Regions from separate parts of the Homo sapiens genome. Here region 1 is linked to region 2. Evidence: promoter capture Hi-C in human tissues and cell types (Jung and others, 2019). All regions are on one chromosome and are shown on one strand. Each heading gives the region's core, a stretch centred on a gene start or on the middle of the fragment in contact. The rest is flanking DNA. Distances are from core to core; before and after follow the strand shown. Region 1 overlaps PTPRD (protein tyrosine phosphatase receptor type D). Region 2 holds the start of PTPRD (protein tyrosine phosphatase receptor type D).

Region 1 (4,016 bases), core at 795-3,294, 60 kb after region 2:
ACTGCAGTCCAGTCTGAGCGACAAAGCGAGACTCCATCTTGAAAAAAACAAAAACAAAAAAAATTAAAAAAAGAAATGTATAAACCTGTTAATCATCTTTAGGGATGTATAAAAATGTTAATAGCAAAGGTCAAATAATATATTATCCTGGAAATTGGAATTCTCAAATACCTGATGCTGTTATGAAACTAGAGGGTTAAAGAAAAAACTGTGGATAATATTCAATGATCAGAAAAATTGAGCTGGAATATTTAAATTAATAAGGGAAGAGAGTAATTACTCTGAAAGTTTCTAAGTATGTTTTAAAGCCACACAGATATGAAAAAGTATGGAGCTAAGAAGATTGCACCTGGAAATGGTCCTGGAAATTATTTATAGTTTGCTGCTTCTATTTTGTTCAGGTGAACAAGCTAAAGGTCCATGAGATTATTGAATGACTTCACCAGAGAAGTAAAATCCATTGGGGAAAAAGTAACATCCTGAAAAAGAGCCAATTTAAGTGAGGAAACATATTTCCATTTAAGGGCAAGGAACAGTAGAGTTTAACGGCATGCAGAAAGGGTTGAGTTATACACTAAAAGGTCTCATCATTAAAAGCTCTTAATCCAGTAGATTTGGGATGGACATTTGCATGGGATTAAGAGATTAAGAAATGTAACTTTGTGATGTTCTTGTATGGAAATCAGGTCAAACATGTTTCCCACACTACTTATCCAAGAAAATATAATAAAGGGGATATTAAAGAACAATATTGGTAGAAAAAATTAAAAACAGCAGTCTCCCAGAAACTGAGTTTACCAAAATGTAAATTTTTAGCATACTTTAACTCAGTAATTTAAACTGTATAAATCTAACAGATATAGCTGTACAAGTGAGTAAAAACATATATTAATTACATTCATTGACTAATTTGTGTAACTGGAAGATTTTAAAACACTATAAACATTATTAATAAGAAAACTAGCTGCATAGTTCTTTCTCCTTCTCTCTCTCTTTGAATATATGTGTGTATACATATATATTCACAGTTCTTAAAATGAATTGGATTTGTTTGATTTATACATGCCACTTTAGAAAGAGTCCTAAAATATATTGACAAGTAAATAAAGCCAGATGAAACTCAGTTGCATATGAAATGATTTTGTGTTATAAAAAGAAAGTACACAGGTGAATGTCTATCCTTGGAGAGAATATGTACATACTTGCATATTTTGGAAAAATCTCTGGAGGTATACATAACAAACAAGTTATAGCTGTTTCTTTTTGGAATACAACTCAGGGATGAGAATTTTAATTATTTTTTGTGAACTATTTTATGTGTAGGATTTTTTTCCTGTATAACCATTACATCTTTAAGTAAAAAAAAAAAAAATAAAGATTGTTAACATATGAGTCTATGACTTGACCCATCTCAAGCATAATCACAAAAGTTTCAGCCTTCTAGGTGTTTTTCATTTTCTGCTAGGATCTAAGATATGCTCATAAATGATCTTCCACATGCAATTATTACTTTGCTTTCTGCCTGGGTGGGGACTGTGCTGTATCCTACTACATTCTCTCCTCCTTAGGCTGGATGGACAGGAATATAACAAATCCAGATGTGCTTCTGTGATTCTCAGCATGGAGATGTTGCTAGTGATCACTATGATGGGCTCAGGGAATGGTCAACTGGAGGCACAGACTGCCTCAGCTGAATTCTTGTGTCCCACTTTGAACTGTAAATAAATCTACCCTAGGACAAATAGTCATCATAAACTCCATCATCAAGACTACTATATCAAGCAACGTGAATCTCCAGAAACTGGATTGTATCTATTGGGAGAGTCATGGGACCCAATTTAGGACAAGAATAGGTTTCCTTTTTTCCATACAGAGAAGATAGGAATGCCTCAACCTGTGCTGTTGCCATGTGAAGATCCTGTTGCTTATCCAATGTGAGTTTTTTTTTTCTTTCCATGGGAGAGCAGAATGGCCACTTCTTTCTCTTTTCTCTAGAAGACTGAAAGGAAATAGAAATCTCCTGCCATAAATCTGCAGTGCTCCTCTTGCATTCAGATATGTTATTTTTTGACAACAGAATGGAAGTTGGAGAGAGGAAAGAGCAATTGGTTGATCTAGCGTCCACAGTGGTAGGGATATAAATGTGATGCATTATGGGATTCTAAGATGGCTGGAGATAGGAGGAAAAACTGAAAAACTTAACAAAAGGGTCAAGACACTGTTACACATGATCATGTAGAAAAAAAAGACAGAAGAATGAGAAGAGTGTGAAATAATAAGTTTGGGTCAAGAGCATGATGGAGTTTAAGGTTTCAGCACTCAAGAAATTCTCTGTGATTGCAAAATTAAGAGTTTGGGGAGCAATAGGTATCCAAAAGCATGGTGTGATAGCTCATTCATATTTAGAGAATTTAGAAACTTTTGGACTGGAATGATGATACCTTAAATTCTTAATACAGATAAAAAAGCTTGGTTTTCTGTTCTATTAGTGTCGAATGGCCTGCACACACTAACTTGGAGTTACAAAAAAATGATACCACCACCTCAAAACTCCATTAACAGTGTGAATAGGAGGATGAACCTCTTGAAATGACTGCAAAATTGTACTAATAAAAAGAGACAATCATTCATTTGAGCCAAGTGATATAACATGAATCCTTTGAAAATTTGTGGGAGAGATGTTTGCTTGAAGACTCCAAAGCACCTCCATAGAGAAGTGATTTGGCATTAGGTGTTGAAAACATGCATGCAAAGTAGAAAATTCGACTGAGTGGATGAATGTGCAGAAAGGGAGTACTTGAAGTAGTAACCAAACATGGTAGAAATGAAAGACAGCATGTTTCAAGTCTCAGGATTCTGAATAATGTAAAGTCATTTTTCACTAGTTTTTTTTCTGGGCATATGCTGGTACTTTCTCAGCTTGGATCCTGCCAAAGCCCAACATGAATGGTCTGGAAGCAATAGTGGGAAGCAAGTTGTCTTAGTTCATTCAAGGTACTGTAGCAAAATGCCATAGACTGGGTAACTTGTAAACAACAGAAGTTTATTTCTTATAATTCTATAATAGAGCCAGGAAATTTCAAAATCAAGGTACTGGCAGATTCCATGTCTGGTTTATAGATATAGACTTAATGCATGTGGAGAGGGCAAGGCAGCTCTTTAGGGCCTGTTTTACAAAGGCACAATTCCCATTCATGAGGCCTTCTTCTTCAGGACCTTCATAATCACCTCTTAAAAGTCTCTACTCCCTAATACTGTCACCTTCAGGGTCACGATTTCAACATATATATTTTTGAGGAACATAGACATTCAAACCATAGCACAAGGAACATGAATCACGGTGGTAAATATGTAATTTTTATTTTTATTTTTTATTTTTGGTGACAAGGTCTCCCTGTGTAGTCCAAACTGGAGTGCAGTGGCATAATCATAGCTCACTGTAACCTGGAACCTCTGGACATGAGGGATCCTCCTGCCTCAGCCTTCCAAGTAGCTGGGACTACAAGTGTGTGACATGATACATGGCTACTTTTTTTAAGGTTTCTTTGCAGAGTTGGGGGTGTCACTCTGTTGCCCAGGCTGGTCTTGGACTTCTGGCCTCAAGTGATGCTCCCACTTTGGCTTTTCAAAGGACTGCGATTACAGGCATGAGCCACTGCACTCAGCCTAATATGTAATTTTAATGACAGAGTTGTGTCAAAGTCTCCATGCTATTAAGGGAGACCTGGTTTTGGTTATGAAGGGCAAGTTTAGAAATGTGTGTACAGTGTACAGCCATAGGAGAATGAAAGTTAATACCGAAGTGAATAAGGCCATGGGAACCATGCCAATATATGTAATGATGTGTGGAATAACATTTAGAAAGAGAGGTAGAGGTGGAGAAAAAGCTTATATCTGGCCACTGGTGGCACCTTTCTTTTGCCCAACCAATTTCAGAAGAGCTGAAGCTGAGATAGATAGTTCTTTGCATCTTTCCAGCATCCCACCTGAAGCACATATCATGGGGTATTTCTGCT
Region 2 (4,053 bases), core at 916-3,415:
AGAATGAAATCTTTACTTAAAACACACAAACTATTGTCAAGGGAAAGATGGAAAAGAGAATACAGTAAAAGGGCCAAATGCTTTGCTTAACCCACCAGAAGCAGTAGAAAGGGAGAGGTGGTCACGTTGTCTTTGCAACAACAACAACAGAAAAGGTGACTAACACAACCACATCAGCCTCCATCTGCTCTTCCCATGGTTTCAAGATGCATTATTTCTTTTATTATTAATTACTTGTGTTTCTGAGGGAGGACAAATATATTATTGTGACTAGCAAGAGAGGAAATCATTTCTGCTTCTACTTGGCATTAAGTACAGTAGTGTATGTAATGACTGAGGGATGGCAGGAAACAGAGCGGCATCATTGAGACCAGCCTCCCTCCTACCAATCCACTCCAACTCGCCCTTGGTAGTCAGAGGCTGCCTAACAGAAAGTTCATGTAAAACCATTATTGAACACTGACAGGAAGGAACTGAGACAGGAGTGAGTGGTGTGTATTTGTGCAGAAAGGGAGAAGGAGGGAGGGAGAGAGAGAGAATATGAGTCAGTCATCATCATCTTGGGGAGACAGCACCGTAAGAGGGGCAAGTGCTTTGTATAATTACAAAAATATGTACACATGCACACACACTTGCACATATGGTGTAATTTTTTTTCGTTCATATCTTGTCATTTCCAAGAACCTTTTTAAGTGATGATGACTGTTTGTGCATGGGAACCTTCTTGGATGGGTAGGCTCCGTGGCTTTAGGGAGGCTGAGCAGGGAACCCGGCAGCGCGTGGGTTCAGGAGAAGGGTCCCTTTTAAAGAGCAAAGGGACACAGCAAGCAGTGGAGAAGGTATGAAAAGAAAAAGGTGAAGGGACCCTGGGGAAAATTCCACCTATAGTGACTAAGCTTTATTTCTCTTCGGGAGAAAGTGACATTTCTGCGATTAGATCATTGACATATAAGGAAAGTAGATGGATAACTGGTTTTTCGTTGTTCTTTTTTTATTTGTTTTCTTCTACAGTGCTTACAGAACCTTTGACCAGATGGTACCTGGAATGCTCTGTGTTGCATATTACAAACAGGATAATTATTTTGGCTTTTTAGAAAACGCACCGACATGGTGACATTGCTCTCTGTTTATCAAGAGACAGAGCATTTGTTGCCTATAGCTGTATGCTCTGATGAGACATGAAAGATAGTAAAATGACAAAAAGCTTCCTGCTGTTTTTCTCTCATCCTGCCCCTTCTTCTCCCCCCAGCTCCAAACCTTATTTCTAGTTTCGCTGGGGGTCTAAGTTCCTCCTCCCCTGTCTCCCGAGTCTGTGGTACACCACATCTGATGCACTCCGATACCCCACTCTACCTTGGGGTAAGGAGGAGGTGGGGAAGAATCCGCTCCCTGCATCCATGTCCTCTCCTCTGCAGCGAGGCATATTCTCAGCAACTCTTGTACAGGTTTTCCCTTCTCAGCTACCACCTTGGCAGAGCTCTATCCCTCCCTCAAGCCCAGCCAGACTGCCAAGCGCCCCGACTGAAAACTCCATCCAGCTCAGCCGAAGTACACCCCCTCCGCCAAGCAACCCCTGTGCCCCTGCCCTTCACCTCCCTAAGTCTGCTCTTCATAAGCATCGATTCCATTGCAAATCAAATGTACGTCCCCCAGCTATTAACACCCACTACCCCTTAGGTGTTACCGACAGCCTCCCTCGGAAAATAATAATAATAATAATAACCGAAAGCACGCGAACACCTGAAGAAGCACAGATCGGGATCCGCATCTGGACCAGTCCTCTGTGGCTATAGTGATGGGGAATAGCCTGTGCCTGACATATCCTCCTGTTCCCGCGCGAACCGCTTTACCCTGGATCCCTGGAATCGTGCCTAGGCACCCGGGCGGCGGGGTCCGCCCAGGCCGCGTCAGGCAGCTCTGGGCCGGTGGGTGCCGGGTCTCCCCTCCTCCCGCCCCATCTGGCGCGCCCGCAGCGCCGCCGCCGCCGCCGCTTCTCTCCCCAGCGGGCGCTCGGAGCATCCCGCGCCGCGTTCTCCCCGCCCCGGCCCCCGCCCGCCGGAGCGGGGCCCACGCCGCTGGCAGCCATCAAGTGGCTCGTTAAGGAAATGCAGGTGAGTGCGTGAGGCCGAGCGGCAGCTGCTGGAGACGTGGGGTGTGTGCCTGTGAGTGCGAGCGAGACGAGGAGGGAGCGCCAGCGAGCGAGCGAGCGAGTGCGGGAGCGGCCGCCTCGGCTCCCCGCCCAGCCGCGCCCGCAGCCGGCGGCCGGAGCGCGTGGGGGCAGCGCCTCGCCCCGACAGAGCCTCGCCTCCTCCTTGCCGTCTCGGCTGCTTCTCCGAGGAGCCGGGAGCCGCTCATCGGCCTCCCCAACCCTGCGCTCCCCTCCCAGCCCGAGTCCTCCCGCTGCTCTTTCTCCTCCTCCTCCCGAGCCTCCTCCCCTCCGGCGCGGCGCCGCCAGCCAGCCTCGGCGGGGAGAGTGCAGGTACTTTGCCTTCAGAATAATTAGCAGGACCCAAGCCGGCTTTCCGAGCGCGCTTTCTTTTTCTTCCTTTGCCCCCTCCCTCCGGAAAAGAAGATCCCACTTTTGAAACAATCAGAAATCGAAGCACCCCACCAAAGCCAAACCCTGACGGGCTGCTGTGCATGTGCCATCCCTTTTTGCAGTTTATTCTGGGCCTGTGTGGAATAGAAAGACAATTCTTTATTTGACTGGTAGGAAAGAAAAGAGAAGACTCCTCAGGGTTTCCAAGGAGGACTGGAGCGGCTGCTTTAGTAAGTAAACTGTGCTTCTGTCTTTCTTTTCTCTAAAGTGAAGCATATGCTGATGCTTTTCAATGCCCAATGTCCAATGCTGTGGACAGTTTATTCATTTTACCTGGGAATAACTTGACTTATATAACTTCAGTAGCTCCTATTTGAGAAGTGGTTCGCTAAGCATTTTTTTCTTTTTTTTTTTTTTTTGGAAGAGCCCTTAGAAGACTTCGATATGGGATCAGTATGGGCAGCCTTACTGGAAAACTGATTTTTAAACGTTTATTGTTCAAGGGCTATTGGAAGCCTGCTTTGTTAAACATTGGTTGGTTCTAAGATTTAAGGGTGGTTATCTAGAAAAAGCTTGAAAAATCTAACCCTACTGGCTCACTTCTCCTGCCACCTTCAACCTCAGCCCTAATCCATGCTAACTCCCACCCTACTCTGACTTCAGTTGGTTGGTTGTTTTATCTTTAGTTCTGAAAAGCTCTAGAAAAAAAAAGGGGGGGGGGGCGGAAAAGGGAAAGTTAATAAGGATGGTTTGAAAGACCAGATGAAAATTCTGTTGCGATTTCTTCATGCCTGTAAGGAGATAATAATTGGAGGAAAATCCTGGAACTAGAATAGTTGGAGAATTAGAATGAACTTAATTTGGAGAGAGAATGTGAAAAATACTTTGGAGAGGGCAGGGCTGAGACTGTGACTTTGACACAGCGGGTTATAAACTCTGACAGGGCTCAGCAGCCAGTGACAGGTTTAAGGTGTCTCCTAAGGCTGAATATCTCTGCATCAAAAACTTTTGCAGGCAGTATTCCTCTTGGGGCTAACATCACCATGTCAGTAGCTGTAGCATTTCTTTTTACAGAAGTAGGACACTCTTCTTTCTACAAAAGGGTTAATAAGTTCATTATACATATATATAAAAAACATGTAGTCTAACATTTGCCAATATTTTGTAATATCTAAATAAAACCTTTGTGTTATGTCAGGAAAAATATAGTTGACTCAGTTTGTTTTGCACAAGAGGGAGAGAATCAATAACATTTCAGCATTTTTTTCTTTATCACTGCCAAATGGATTCTGAATCTAATTCTTCTTGCATTGTTACATATACAGTAGATACAGTAGGAGTTGCAACTTAGACAAAACAGACCTGATTTTTAACAAATCCTAAGTTTTTTGACATGGTAGTACTTATACTGACTAGAGTCTAATAGTGATTAGAAAAAGTTTATCCCTTTTATCTTTAACTGTTAATTTCTTTCTCAGTATAATACATACTTTTTAATAAAAACCCCTTATAAG

What was found. Contacts are between HindIII fragments. The study calls those that stand out against the background at their distance.
Region 1: a fragment that was not itself captured here is called in contact with the fragment with the promoter of PTPRD in region 2 in 2 of the 25 tissues and cell types used here (pancreas and small bowel).

The regions. Positions count from the first base shown.
Region 1 is chr9:10,550,703-10,554,718 of GRCh38, reverse strand. All of the region lies in intron 2 of PTPRD (protein tyrosine phosphatase receptor type D), which reads left to right. Among named protein-coding and RNA genes, the nearest start is that of PTPRD, 60 kb to the left of the region's middle. The HindIII fragment of the contact is 6,408 bases long and covers 1-4,016 here.
Region 2 is chr9:10,611,114-10,615,166 of GRCh38, reverse strand. PTPRD (protein tyrosine phosphatase receptor type D) reads left to right here and starts at 2,165. Exons shown (of 46, transcript NM_002839.4): 1 at 2,165-2,479; 2 at 2,662-2,769. It overlaps PTPRD-DT (PTPRD divergent transcript), which reads right to left and starts at 1,961. Exons shown (of 3, transcript NR_110696.1): 1 at 1,741-1,961. RefSeq lists a silencer at 2,011-2,220. The HindIII fragment of the contact is 2,966 bases long and covers 1,051-4,016 here.